Regions from separate parts of the Homo sapiens genome. Here region 2 is linked to region 1. Evidence: promoter capture Hi-C in 16 types of primary human blood cells and fetal thymus (Javierre and others, 2016). All regions are on one chromosome and are shown on one strand. The core of a region is centred on a gene start or on the middle of the fragment in contact, and the rest is flanking DNA. Distances in the headings are between cores, read along the strand shown. Region 1 holds the start of ITGA6-AS1 (ITGA6 and PDK1 antisense RNA 1). Region 2 overlaps LOC107985960 (a long non-coding RNA gene).

What was found. The method cuts DNA at HindIII sites, captures the fragments that hold promoters and counts their contacts. A CHiCAGO score of 5 or more calls a contact.
Region 2: a contact is called between a fragment that was not itself captured here and the fragment with the promoter of ITGA6-AS1 in region 1, in 5 of 17 cell types (megakaryocytes, endothelial precursors, M2 macrophages and 2 more). The highest score is 11.6, in megakaryocytes.

What each region holds. Positions count from the first base shown.
Region 1 is chr2:172,459,762-172,467,354 of GRCh38, forward strand. It overlaps ITGA6-AS1 (ITGA6 and PDK1 antisense RNA 1), which reads right to left and starts at 6,261. Exons shown (of 2, transcript NR_157573.1): 1 at 6,063-6,261; 2 at 4,501-4,813. ITGA6 (integrin subunit alpha 6) reads left to right here. Exons shown (of 26, transcript NM_000210.4): 2 at 5,778-5,902. PDK1-AS1 (PDK1 and ITGA6 antisense RNA 1) reads right to left here. Exons shown (of 4, transcript NR_199657.1): 4 at 4,505-4,813. RefSeq lists an enhancer at 6,502-6,671. The HindIII fragment of the contact is 13,641 bases long and covers 1-7,593 here.
Region 2 is chr2:172,281,139-172,288,731 of GRCh38, forward strand. The region is part of intron 2 of LOC107985960 (a long non-coding RNA gene); the gene reads left to right. Among named protein-coding and RNA genes, the nearest start is that of ITGA6, 140 kb to the right of the region's middle. The HindIII fragment of the contact is 4,651 bases long and covers 2,286-6,936 here.

The DNA.
Region 1 (7,593 bases), core at 5,011-7,510:
CCCAGATCAAATCCAGTTACCCCAGGATAGCCATGAAGGGCTGTTCCAGCATGATCCTGTGTAGCAGGCCCGGCAGAACATCAGGTCTACATTGCTGCAGAAAGGTCCAGGGGCTCTGAGAAGGGAGTGTGAGCCAAGATGAGATCCTGATTTAACGCGGGTATGGCTTGGGAGCTTAGAGAAGATTGAGGCTTGGATAAAGGTGAACAATAGAAGAAAAAAGAAAGGCAATGAGAAAAGCCAAGGAAAGCAAGAGTCATGGTCCAAATGTGAAGTACACAAAGCAATTGATAGAATGTAAGAATAGCAAGTCTGTTTGACCTTAATGCTAGGAACAGTTTCTTTTGAGGCTGAGGGCTTCTGATACTGCTCCCAGACAGAAAAAGGAAAATCAGAATACAGTTTGGTTCAGCACTGAGTAATACTTATTTGGCTATGTAAAAGAATAGATGACTGAATTGTGGTTAAAAGTCAAAATGTAAGTGGTAATAGGTCCTGTAAGTGTAAAGGTGTAGCTGGTAGATAGCAAGACATGGAGAAACTAAGAGGAAAGTTTGGAAGGAAGAATCCAAATGCTCATAGCTTTGTCTCACTAACTAGGGAATCAAGATTTCTGTCAAAAGTTGAAGGGAAAATAGAGGTTTAAATCTTTAAAACTCAGAGTAGCAAATAGAGGAACTAAATCTAGTTATTAAACATAGGATGGGAGGTGGCAGTTTGTTCTTTCCTTTTCATATTATGGGGCCAACAGTTATTGCCTAAAGCTGATAAATCAATACATATATAATAATCCAGAATTATGGAGAAGTAAATCCAGAATGAAAAGTAAGAGGTTTGTCCGGAGTGTGGGGCTTGGGATGAGTTTGGAATCTGTTGCTTTCTACCGTTAAGTCTTTTATTTTTTGATTTCCTATCATTTGTACTTATTACTTTAGCAAAAATTAAATTCTGAGTTTGAAAATGGGTTAAATGTAAAGGTGACACAATTGCCACATAATGCTACTTTCTAACTTTTTAGGTCTTAATTTGGACAAACTAAGCAGGCTGTGTTTTAAATTAAGCAATAATAGTGTTCTTGTTCTAATGGTGCAATATTTCATGTTTCCTCTGACCAGCTTGCATAGCTAGGGGCAGAATCTTTAATCCTTGAGGAAATGAATTATTGCCAAAGACAGTGAAGCAAAGCTGCCATTGTTCTTGGAGTTTTAAAAGTGTCCCAGTGTTTAGAACTTTTGATTTGAAGTATTTATGCAAAAGTATACCAGCTCTCTTTGGGGGAGAACTTGAATATATGAAACGGATGTGGCTTACTTGAAGAATTTTGAAATAACCTTGTGTTCATAGCATGATAGTGAGTCCTGAGTCTCTGTGCCCAGAGCTCTGATTAGACTCCAAAGACCTGAATTTATATCATATTCCCAGTTACTGTTATACTTATATCGTTAGATTTTTACATTCCATTTTAGTATCTCAGTGTTTATTTCTTATCGTTAAAGATGATTTTGTGGTTTTGAGTTTTGCCTTTTAAGTGTGGGTTTCTGATATGCTGAAATCCCAAGGCAGTTTTTATTTCGGTGCAGCTTTAAAATTCAGTGGAGGTCATTGTCCACTGGCCGGTTTTGAAATGATCTTAGTTCACACCCAGATTCTTGCCCTTTGTTTAGTTTTTCTTGCCTTGACCGCATATGGGAATAGACCTCTCAGGCTCTGCTCTGTTAATTTCTATCACCTCCCTACAAAGGCCCTAACTCATATCCCTTGGTCCCTGTGGCTCTGAAGGTCGAGTTGTCACATAGCTCTTTCCTCCTTCAAACGTACTGGGATGGTCAGTAATGAGTGCTGCAGCTGCCCTGGTCCTAGGAGTTGCTGTGAGCATCCTGGTAGTGCCCAGAGAGTACCTGCTTTTCACACTGAACCATCTGGGTGGCCTGGGCCCAGTTTTTGGCATTTAAGGGCCTTGGAGGGAAAGGGAAGAAAGCTGGAATTTGAGCATAAATTGGATTTTGTGTGGGCTGAGGGTCCTCCTAGGTGTAGACTGTCCCTCCTGGACCTGTACCCACTCTGCTAGCTCAGGAGCCAACCATGTCCTGAACAGCTTAGACCAGCACCCAGACCCTAAATGACCTAGATTAGGAAGTAGATAGGTTGTTCTCTGCTGTCATTGTTTGGACACAGCTCTATTTACCTTATTTATTGTTCCTGCTAGGCACAGCCTCAGCTAATGGGCTGTGATCTCCTGCCTTTAAGGCTGGTTCCAGGCGAATTAAGAGCCTTTGCTTGTTTCCCAAACCAGGGAGGGCAGCTTTACCTTGAGGATGAAGGCGCCTCCAGTTGCTGAATGTGGTTGGGGTTACTGTGTTCTCTCATCAAGGTGTAGCTTTACCTTACCTTTCGGTGATGGGTTCTGCCACCTTATCGCGGTGGGTCCCAGGAGACCGGGCGCAACTGGAGCAGGGGCGCCCTCTGCTGCTGGGTGTCAGCTCTTCCTCCCACGGCTGCCCAGGGGATTTGCAAGGGGCGGTGGAACACTCCTGCTTCCTCCATCCCCTGTGGGACCACCTGAGGTGGAGGAAGGACAGTGCCAGGACCATGTGCAGGCTGAGCTCGCCCAGAGGCGGTGCAACAGCTAACGTTATTCTCTGTGGGTACATTTCTCTTGTCGTTTGCAGGTCTCTTTTCGAATCTGTTGTCCTTTTTCCCCAAACCAGCCTGCTGCCCCCATCCTGCCATGTGGTCTGCTGTCATCTGCAGTAGCCGCCGCATGTAAGACACGAGGACCTCTTCTGCAAGAGCTTGGTGTGGGCATTTGTGAAATTTTGTCACCACAGCCCCTGTAACCAGCCAACAAATTCGAGTTAAATGCCTATTCTTTGTCCCACACGTATTAGTTACAGAGAGTGGAGAACAAGTGGCAGATAGAGGCTGAGGGAAGCCAACCCACTCTGAGGGACTGGGCATGTAAATGGGACAACCTCCACAGCTTTTTAAACCACAGGACACCCAAAAGCAGCTGTACCCTGCAGGACACAGCAGGCTACAGAAGCCTGGGGTTCAGAGGGTCTCTGACCCTTCGTCCTTTAGCGCTGCTGACCAGGCTGCTGATCCTCGACCCCTTCTTGTCACCCATTGTGTCCCTCTTCTCCCTTTTCTCTGGCTCCTTCCCTTGCAGCCTTTGCATATGCTGTGTTCCTTACCTGGCCACCTCCAGTCCCGCTGTCATCTCTTAGTGACATCCTCCCTTCCTCTCCAGCAGGTGCTGGTGCCCACAGCACTCTGTACCATCCTCTCATTGCCTCTAGCTCCCTGTGGTTTCATGACCTCATGACCTGTTCACGGATCAGGCTTCCCCAGGCCAGAGATTGAGGAGTGGGGGCAATTCCTTATTCATCCTAGGAGGCTCTTAATCAGCGTTTGTTGAGTGAATAGGTGAACGAATGTGGGAATGGGATAAACAGGAAATAAGCCCTGTGCCTGCCTTAGGTAACTTAGTAGCCACCTTGGGTGTGGGTGAGAAGAGGAAGTGGTTAGGAAGACACACAGTTAAGACAATGGGACTCCTGTGCTGCTTTTTCTAGGCTTCTCTTTGCTGGTGGTTACCTTTACAGGAAATCTCTTACCCAGCCTTCACTCCACCCAACTGCAATAATGCTTTTCTTCCTTCCCCTCTACTTGGCTCTATTATCTTAACTTTTATCAGCATACAGAACAGTTTTGGTTGTGATGTTTTATTTGTGTAAGTTTTGCCCTTTCAACTAGGTTGTAAACTTGAAATCCTGGGTTTTACTTCCTAAGCAGCTTTGTAAAGAAATGGAGACAACATTGCACCAAGATAATTTTTGTCATGGCCACCCACTAGCTGTGAGATCTTGGGGGATGAGTAATTAAGCTCCTCAAGGCCTCTGTTTCTTTATCTGTAAAACTGGAGGACTGGTCTCTCTCAGGGGCTTCCAGTGTGAAAGTCCTGGGGTTCTGGGCCTCTGATCCTGGCACCCCACTTATCCCTTCCAGCACCCTCCACATGACTCCACCTCTGACATCTGCCAAGTACAGTAATTTAACACATTCACCTTATAGTCTAGGCAGTTCACCTCCCAGGTACTTGTTTGTTGGCATTCCTGGGATCGGGGACATCACTGGAATAGGAGTGGAGCAGACCTGTGGGGACCCTTGTGGCCCCGGCCTTGCCTCTGTCCTCTGTCAAGAAGGTTCAGGCACCAAGGACACTGCTCCAGTTCCTAATTTAAAAGTCTGTGTGTCAGTTCTGTACCTTGGTGTGTGCTGTTTTGTTCCTTCAAATGTAGGGTGGGTTTGGAGGTGGGGGCTGACTGTGACTGTCCAGGGATCTGGGAGGAAGGACAGTGCTGGGGCTATGTGTTATCCATGAGCCACCCCTCCTTCTCTGTCTGGGCATCATCTGGCCCCCCTCCCTGCTTTCCAGGTACACTTGCCTCCGGTGGCACCTGCTGCATGATATTGGTTTAAAAAAAATATGTTGAATCCTTTATTGGAATGATTCCTTTATTGGGACCCAACAGGCATGAAGGTAATAGAGACTATTTGGTTTGTATTTTCATTTGTTTTGCTTTTGCTTCTGAGATTTGTGGGTTTCTTGATGGCCAGGAGTGGCTTGTTTTCTGTTGTAAGAATTTGTTGTTTGTACAGGTTCGTGTTCCCAGTCCTTTTCCTCAGCTCCAGCCTTGTTTCCAAAACTCTCAGCTCTTGGTTTATCTCTGTCCAGTCAGGTGTGTGTTCTTTGTCTTTGTTTCTTGTCCTAGTTGTTCCATGAGTCAGCCAGGCCTCAAAGATTGTAAACCTGATGGTGAGTAAAGGTGTTAGCAAAAGAGACCTAGCAACAAGGTCATTGGATCTCTAAAGAGCCTGTCAAGCTGTGAGATGGTGAAATTTTAAGGACTGTGGATTTGGACTGGGGGCCTCCTTATAGGAGATAAAAACACTCGGCTGGGGAGAAGAAGGAATATTACAGTGCCTAGTACATAAGTGGAGCTACACCAGTTGTCCCTGAATCCTTTGTGGGAGACTGATAGGATGAGAGAGGACGAACTCTTGTAATGTGACAAAAGTGCAAGGAAGTAAGAACTGACTTGGAAGAACAAACATCAACTTGTACACCTCAAATATATCTGCTTTTTATTTGTCCATTCTACCCTAATAAAACTGGAGGGAAAAAAAAAAAAGAATTGGAAAGAGGCCAAGGCTGCAAGTGAATAATTCAGTCGAGTTGTATCTTACTTACCATTAGGTTCTCTCAATTAGTATATAAACTGAAAATCTAAGATATAGTCAGAATTACCCTTGAAAACTACCTCAGGAAGGCACAGTGTTAGAAACTGACATATTATTGCTTATTACATTTAGTGTGGCCATTTTTTCCTTCCATTGTCACAAGTATTTGGTTTCTTCTCTTGAGTTTCATATGATATCCCTGGCATCATAGGGGCTTAGAGGTTGTATTCTTTGAAGAGGGTGTCTTTTAAACACCAGATCATACCCAGCAAGAAATGCTGATACTATGAGAGACAGGCCTATTTTCCTCGTTTTGGTATCCCCTCTTTGGCTTCCCCTGTTTAGTTGTGTTTGTGCGTTTTGCATGAACCAGCCATAGGACTCTACATTTGTTCTCACTCACTGCCTAAGCTGTTGAAGAATTAGTGGACTCCTAGACAAAGAATAATCCCACTATCTCCTAGTTCTGACTGATTTAACTGTTAAACGTATATTAAATTCAAATCTCCAAATTGTCTCTGTTTCATCAACAGGTTGCTCGTGGGGGCCCCGCGGGCAGAAGCGCTTCCACTGCAGAGAGCCAACAGAACGGGAGGGCTGTACAGCTGCGACATCACCGCCCGGGGGCCATGCACGCGGATCGAGTTTGATAACGATGGTGCGTTCCTTTCCCTCACTCAGCGTTCACTCCGGCAGCTTGCCTGTACTGTTTCCATGAGGGAGGAGAGTGGGGACAAACATTTATTCTTGTAGAGAGGACTTCTTTTAATTGCATCAGACTTGACTGTTTTTTATTTGCCCTGAAAATATTTACTTACTTTACTTCTGAATCATACTGGGATGCCGCGTGTTTTGCTGCTCCTCCTAACCGTGGTTTCTAAACCGATATGGTGTAGGGATGTTGCCACCTAGTGATGTGTTGAGGTTCTGCAGGAGGTTGTGGAAAAACTCATTTCATAGCAATGAAGAGAATGAATGAGCGTATCTTGTATTCATCAGCCAAAAGTTCTCACATGCTGTTAAAATATTTGGGAGAAAGACAGTTTTAAATATCAGACCCCTTTGGAATGAGAGCTGGCTAACAGAGATAAAGTTTTCCCTCCTGTCTCAGATAGAGACTTGTTTTGTTAAGGGCTCTGGATAGGTAGAAGATACCATGAGGTAGGCATGTTGACATCCAGTGTACCTGGCTTCTTGTAGGTTGAGCAGAGCAATTAGTGTACTGAGAAGCTCTAGCCAAACCTCGTTTGATATGTTCGGTCTAAGTAGATTTGCAGATTCGTGTCTATGTTCTTCTCTTGCTTCTTCATCTTTTAGAAATAACATTTGTTGGCCAGGCGTCGGTGGCTCACACCTGTAATCCTAGCATTTTGGGAGGCCGAGTTGGGTGGATCATTTGAGGTCAGGAGTTCAAGACCAGCCTGGCCAACATGGTGAAACCCCATCTCTACTAAAAATACAAAAATTAGCCAGGCGTGGTGGTGTACGCCTGTAGTCCTAGCTACTTAGGAGGCTGAGGCGTGAGAATTGTTTGAACCTGGGAGGCAGAGGCTGCAGTGAGCCAAAATCGTGCCACTACACTCCAGCCTGGGTGACAGAGCAAGATACCATCTCAAGAAAAGAAATAACATGTGTTCTTTTATTAGAAACTAATATGTGTTAATTTTAAGAAGCTGGTAAAATACACAGACCTATGAAGAATAAAAAAACCCACTGGCAATCTCAGTATCTAGACTTATTTTTTAACATTTTGGCATTTTTCCTTCTGTCTAAAGTTGTTTAATGTTTTTGTAATGATTCAAGATTAAAACCTGTGTCTGTATTGCTACTTATGGAGGAGTGCAAAATTTGGATATAGGTCACACAGTGGGTTTAAATTGATACTGAAATGAGCACCTGGTGGTGTTTGTGGTCCCCGTCTCTCTGACTAACAGTAACTCTCCTGTTTGGCATTGATACATTGTCAGCTACAAGATCCTAAAGTAAATCTGAGTCTTTTTCTTCCATCTCCAGTAAAGAAGAGAACATTTAATGCTGTTAAATAAAAAAATTGGGGAGTATATAGAGAAGTACCCATTTTTTTTGTTAGTTTGGATGGTAGCTGCAGTTTGGAATACTAGATTTTACATTGTTGCCTTAAGAGATGTATTTTGGAGGGCTCCCTTAGTCTTACAGTTTCACTTACCTTCTGCATTCAGGACCCTAGGTATCAAGAGAGGGCAAAGGGTATTGTTGGACAAAATAGGCAACTATATAGAGCTAAGTACTTTATGTTTCAAATGTTTGAAAGATTCCAAAAACCACATCTCTGTTTCCTTGAGATGACAAGTAATTTTTCTGGATTGAGTA
Region 2 (7,593 bases), core at 3,361-5,860, 180 kb before region 1:
ATTGGAAGGGCCCATGCAAATGAAGGGCCCTGAGGCTGAAACTCTCTTAGCTTCCCAGTAAATACACCCTGGATGGCATCTTTCAATTAATCGGCAGTAGGTTTGCTTTCCTGCTGGGCGTGTTACAGTTGGTGGCAACTTAGATTTGGTATCATATATGTAAAGCACCCCATATGGTGCCTGGCACACACTGGAGGCTCACTAAGTGTTCCTTCCTCCCTTCCCTTAGTGAAAAATCAGCAAACAGAGCTCCATCCCTGGCAGGGGACTATGTCCTTCAAGTGTGTTATTGAAGAATCAGCCTTGTAGAAGTTGATATTCCATTAGTTTGCCTATAAAATTTTTAAATTGCAGTTTTTGAATTTATGGATCTTAGTTCAAGGTCAATAAAAAGTGATTGATGGGTAACCAGCGTGTGCCCAGGGACAGAAGATGTCCTCCTGTTGCTTTGTCAGTGGTCGATGATAATGTACTCGTTTCCAGCCAACCCCTAAAAAGGCAAACCCATCGCTAAGAAACAGAAGAAAAAAGAACAAAATGGACTACACTGTATTAAAGACACCTGAGTTCTGTAGAGGAGAGTTTTCCCAGAATCAGCCCAACACTGCCCTATCACCTACCTGAAGGGCATGTGCCAGACAGTCTGAGCTCATCAGATTCAGGACATGAGGAAAGTTATCTTGGTTTTCCTTTCTACTCTCCCTTCTTCCCTTCACTCTTTCCTTTCCTCCATCTTGTCCACATTTTCTAGACTGCTTACTGTCACTTTCTGAAACAAGAAAAAGATTCCACTTTTCATTGCTTATTAATGCTAAATGACTACCCATTCCCTCGAAGCTATTAATATATATATAAAGAAGTAGGGCATGGAGTGCTGAAATGCAACTGTGTGTCACTTAACAATGTAGATATGTTCTATGAAGTGCATTGTCAGGCGATTTCTTTGTGCAAACATCATAGAGTGTACTTGCATAGCTCTAGATGGTACTGCCTACTATACACCTGGGCTGTGTGGTATAGCCTATTGCTCCTAGGCTATAAAACTGTACAGCATGTTACTGTACTGAATATACCATAGGCAGTTGTAACACAATGATCAGTATTTGTGTATCTAAACATAGAGAAGGTTATGGTATAAAAGATAAAAAATGATATACTTGTAAGGACACTTACCATAAGTGGAGCTTACAGGACTGGAAGTTGCTCTGGGTGAGTCAGTGAGTAAGTGGTGAGTGATTGTGAGGGCCTGGGACATTACTGTACATTACTGTAGACTTTATAAACACAGCACACTCAGGCTACACTAAATTCATTTTACTTTTTTTGAGACAGTCTCACTCTGTCATTCAGGCTGGAGTGCAGTGGCATGATCTTCGCTCACTGCAACCTCTGCCTCCTGGGTTCAAGTGATTCTCCTGCCTCAGCCTCCCTAGTAGCTGGGCTTACAGTTGCCCACCACCATGCCTGGCTAATTTTTGTATTTTTAGTAGAAATGAGCTTTCACCATGTTGGCCAGGCTGGTCTCAAACTCTTGACCTCAAGTGATCCGCCTGCCTTGGCCTCCCAAAGTGCTGGGATTAGAGGCGTGAGCCACTGTGCCTGGCTTAAATTTATTTTAAAACTCTTCTTTCTTCAATAATAAATTAACCTTAGCTTACTGTAACTTTTTCACTTTATAAGCTTTTTAATGTTTTTAACTTCTTTTGGAATAACACTTAGCTTTAAACACAAAGGCATTATACAGCTATGCAAAAATATTTTCTTTATATCCTTATTCTATACATTTTTTTCATTAAATTTTATTATTATTATTTTTACTTTTAAACTTTTTTGTTAAAAACTAAGACAACTACACACACATTAGCCCGGGCTTAATCATCGGGGTCAGGATCATCAATATGTCATCAGGGGATAGGAATTTTCCAGCTCTATTCTAATCCTATGGCATCACCATCATACATGCAGTCTGTTGTTGCCTGATGTCACTGTGTGGCACATGACTGCAGGGGGTGTGGGAAGCCCATTTCTGAGTCAGTTAGAAGGCATATATATTTTCTTCCTTTGCCGTCACTTTACGTTTGTAATTCTGAGGCTCTCTACACGGTTCACTTGGGACTGTATGTTAAGGCTGCTGTTAACTATAAAACAGGTTAAACTGTATTTCAGAGTAGGCATAATTAATGAGGGTGTTATTTCAGGAACAATGATAGGGATTGTGAATAGTCAAGATTCATTCTAGAATGAGCAAGAAATTTGCTGGAAAAAAGAGGTGTAATGAAAAAGGAAGCTTCTTTCTATTTCTGATGAGGAGCTTGGTATGTCTGTAGTTTGATTTTGTAACAATTGTTTTCCCTGAAGTAATTTGGATGCTGCATTAGTCTGATTATTATGATTTCCTGTTTAGAACCCAGATACCTTCTCGATATGTCCCCAATAGCATATTTCTGGAAATGACTTCAACCAATTACATTAGCTCTCATTCCCTTGGTTTCTATGTGGTTGACCAGACAGGAATCAGGCTGCCTGAGTGTGCAATCCAGATAGCAAGAGGCAGTCGGTAGAGAGAGTGTGAAATTGCCCTGAGATACTGTGTGGTCTGCAGGCGGGTCCAAGTGAAGGAATGTGATGCAGCTGAGGCCTCGGGGGTGGGGCCGGGGGGCATATTTTTGATGTCTGAAATATCTTGACCAACTGGCCTTTCAGGGATAATTTTGATGACCATGTTTCATCTGGTGCCGAGTCTACTTCTGGTGCTTGACTCATGAAGGTATCAGTGATGACAAGGATAATGAAATTTATCTTCAAACCTACTCCCCTTAAATGTAGTAGATGTAAGCACTGGGACAAATCTGAAAAGAGTCTTCAGCATCTCCTTAAGGTTACTACTATTATGGATAATAGTGCTGTATCATTTACAAAACCATAGCCATATTGTGCAGCAGGTATTATTATTCCTGTTTTACAGATGTGTAAACTGAGGCACAGAGAGGTTCAGGGATATACTAATGTTGCCTACCGAGTGAGCAGTGGAGGTGGGATTTGACCCCAGTTGCCTGAATCCAAATCATCCCGTTCCCATCTTCTCCCCTAATGATGTCATGCCCCATGCTGCATCGGTGGAGGGGTTTTATGGGAGAGTGACAGGAGCCTTCAGCTCCTTCTGTGGTACCCCTTGCACTCTGTGAATCCACCAAGGGAGGAGAACACTCCAAGACTGCCCCAAAGGGGTATGTGCCCTCGCCTGCGCAGATGCTGGCTGTCAGAGGACTGAGGAATTTCCCCAGGGGGAGATTTTCCCAACCACTACATTAACCTGTTCAAAGATCCTGTCCAGCTCTGCAAGATTAGCTGAGATCTGAGGCATTTAGCATGGAAAGAACACATTCTTCTAAAGAGTCATTTCAGCCATTCTACCTATGCACATCTGAGTTTAAAAAAGGAGAGAAAGAGGGCAAACCTACTTCAAAGTGGCCTATTTGGCAGTTGACCATTGGAAGGCTAATGATAATGACAAAAACTGAAAACAGGAGGCACTCTCTTATGGTGTCTTGTCCTCTAGATATGCATAAGATATGCAAAGGCACTGTGGAACTCGATGAAACACTCAGCCTGCAAGAGTGCAGTGGGGAACAAAATACTCAGAAAGTAGAGACTGTTTTATTTATGGGATGGGGTCTCACTTTGTTCCCCAGGCTGGAGTGCAGCGGTGCAATCATAGCTCACTGTAGCCTTGAACTCCTGGGCTCAAGTGATTCTCCTACACCAGCCTCCTGAGTAGCTAGGACTACAGTGCATACCACCATGGCCACTAATTTTTTAATAAATATTTTGTAGAGACAGGGTCCTGCTCTATTGTCTAGACTGGCTTCAAACTCCTGGCCTCAAGCGATCCTCCTGCCTCAGCTTGGTTGCTGAGGCAACAGGGGCACGACACTGGTCTTGGCCAACATTTTAAACTTTATTTGGCAAAACCAATTCTTTTGCTACTTCCCTACTGCACTCAGGATGGGGACACAGGAGCTGGGAGAAATTTCACCAAGAAAGAAGTGGTTATGTACAGCACAGACAATAGGCTGGCAGGTTTCATTTCCCCCCAGTCCTATAAAAGAAAGCATGTAACTTGAAACCAGTTTAATGAAGTAACTCCAGGATTCCAGTAGCTGGTTACTCTGGGCCAGAAAGCCTGGAACCACCAAGATTCCTAAGGATGTGGTGGACAGGGGCTGGGCACCCACGAGGCTGCAGCAGCTGTCAGCCATTATCCCTAAAATAATGCTCTTCCAGGCCTGGGAGCACAGAGGCCTTTGAGAAGGTCAGTGAGTGCGGCTGCCAGTCACAGCTTCAGTGGCTTTGCACAGCTGGGCTCCATTCTGGAATCTGGAATCCTCAGTGCAAACTGTCAGGGCTACGTGTCTGTGCTGGGCCTGCTGAGAGGCAAAATGAGTCCTTTGGGATTTGAAATCTAGCAGTTTTGGATTAGGTGAGACTAAGAGTTCTCTGGATTTAGCTGAGTCCAAGGTGCTTATTTGTGGGCAAGAAGTTCTCCCTTCCAGTGAATGAAACCTGTGCAGTGCCCCTATCCTGCTCTTCCACAGGGGCACAAAAGGCTGCTGGCACAACATGCTGTTGGTGTGGGTGAGGTCGGGTAGTTTGGAGTCAGATCAGCCTGGTTTCAAATCCTGCTGTCCCTCCACTTCTGTGATCTCTGCAAATTACTTGTTTTGCACTATTGTTTCTTTCCTTCCTTCCTTTTGATCTCCGCAAATCACTTAACTTTTTTTTGAACTACTGTTTGGTTTAGTTTCCTTCCTTCCTTCCTTGCTCTCTCTCTCTCATTCTCTCGCTCTCGCTCTGTCTCTCTCTCTCTCGTCTCACTCTTCACCCAGGCTGGAGCGCAGTGGCATGATCTTGGTTCACTGCAACCTCCTCCTCCCAGGTTCAAGCGATTCTTATGCCTCAGCTGCCCCTCCAACACAACGGCTGGTTAATTTTTGTATTTCAGTAGAGACGGGGTTTGACCATGTTGGCCAGGCTGGTCTGGAAATCCCAACCTCAAGTGATCTGCCCGCCTCAGCCTCCCAAAGTGCTGGAATTACAGGCGTGAGCGACCGCACCCGGCTGATCAGGTTTATATTCTGTAAATGGGATGCCTTCTAATTATTTCTTGTAAACTGTGGAATGACTGAACTGATCTTAACATTTCAGTTAACCAACGCAACAAGTAATGCAGCTGTGTGATTTTGAGACAAGTTACTTAGCCCCTCTGTGCCTCAGTTTCCTTATCTGTTCATAAAACAAGTATATTAGACTAGAGATTATTTTCATTCCTAAATTTTGTGATGTTATAGGGCTGTTCCTGAGTGAAATTTCACAGAGGAAAGGATGTACCTCTCAATGGCTGCCATAGCTCATATTGTGGCTTTTATGTTTGAAAAGAGACTTTCATTTTGGAAGGTGGGCGTGGTGGTTGTGATGTCCTGCAGTTTGAAGGAACAAGGCTAACAATCAGAGGGCCTGAATTAGGTACTGGCTCCACTATTTAGTGGCCGGAAAACCTTACAGGCAGAATCATTCCCTGGAAATAAAGCTCCCCTGGATACTATCTGTTCTGTATGAGCATCTGTTCCTCTCCCATGAAATGGACATAACTGTCAGTACCTTATCTGTTGACTTCCCAAGGTGGAGTGAGAATCACATTAAATCATTTACTCAGTCAGCTTGCACTATGCAGAAGATTTTTGGCATTTTGGTGGTATAAACCATAGGTGTGCATATAGCTCAAAAGATTCTATGCTGTGATTCTAATGAACTCTCAAACTCTTTAGATCCCAATTTTACACTGGAGCAGTGACCGTGCTTCTTGGCTGATCTCTTGGCTCTCCCTCTCCTCCATGTCCTTCCTCTACCTTCTAAAGGACGAACTGTTCATGGCTTAATAGCAACCACAGTCTACAATTTATATTCCAGAACTTTTCTCGCTTGCTAAGAAATAACTTCCATTGTTTCTATAACAAGGGAAGTAAGCAAATGACTTGAGGGGCACAGAGGTGAGTTCTGAGTTAAGTATAGGCCTGCCAGGAGTTGGCTTTCCATGAGCAAAACCCAAATTTTCATTCAGATAGAGTATTAGCTCAGAAATCAGAACACCTACTGATCCTCAGTAGGCAACATGAATTAGGCATAAATAAATAAATAAATAGGCTGATTTATTGTTCCTTGACAATGTGGTTTAATTTTTAAATCAAAAGGAAATAATGACTATTTCAAACTAAATGTATGGACTCTTCCTGTTTTTTCCCTCTGATATAAAATTCCATAGGTCTTACTCATTCTTTTTTTTTGTTTAATTTAGCATCCAACCTTTATTTTTATTTTTTTGCTTTAGAACCTTTTTTTTCATGTATACTTTAAGTTTTAGGGTACATGTATACAGGTCTTACTCATTCTTATTGGTGATCCAATTTGAAGTACCAATAGATTAAATGATTTTCCTAAACTGGTGAGTGTCTCTCACAAAATCCATCAGAGCTGGGGCCTGATCCCTGGGCTCTGTTCCTAATGACCATCCTACATGTCTCTATAAATAGACCATTATCAAATGGTTTTTACCGAGCTTGGATTGGATGACAATCATGACTCTCAATTTTCCTTCCTTCCCTCTCATCTGATTTTAAATTATCTCTGACAGTCAGGATGTGATAAATCTACTGTGTTCAGAGTTCGGAGTTCTGAACACAATTTTCCAACATAAGGAAGGCTAGAAATACATATTTGAGACAAAACATGGAAATCCTACCAACTGCTGGTGAATTCCCTTTGAGTTTCTCTCTTCCCTTTCAGGAAATGTTCCTTGGGTCTCCTGTCCTTGTTAGCACCAGCTTCTCCGGTCTGGTTCCAAATCATCACCTTGGCAACATCACTTCCCACGGTCCACAAAGCTTTGGACAGCCAGTCTCTATTTTGCCTTTATCGCCTATATGTTGGCCAGTAGGGTAGAGAAGTCCATGACCTTGCTCATCCCAGCTTTGTTTTGTCCAAACTCTTTTGTGCAAAGAGGAAAACCAGGATTTTAAATCATGCACTGGGCTGTGCTGACACGGTGCCCAGCAAAATAAATCACAACCCCTTTATTTTAGAGCAGCTGGAAATGGACACTTTTAATGGACAGGGGAGTCTGGCCAAAACAGGACTGGGATGAGACAGGATCATCATTTTAGAATGCTGATTTTGCAGGGAGAATGTCACTTCTCTGTTTTTATACATCCTGAGTTTTCTTCCCTTATAGGCAGCTGCTGAGCTGAAGGTGTTTCTGCAGCAAGCGTCCCACTCTCATCTGCATGCTGACTACACAGACTGGGCAAAGTCTGTATCTTTCCAGTCTGTGTGCACACAGGCTAATTTGTCATTAGCTCTGCAAAAGTCATGAGAGGAGGTTTAATTTAATAAATTAAAATATAATCCCCAAACACAAGTTTATAACCAACACTTTCATGTGCATTGAGCAAGGCTTTTTCACTTAGTTGTAAAGGGGAAAAGAACTAACACTTACACTGAGGGCCCACTAAGTCTCACAACATTGTGAGACAGGTACTA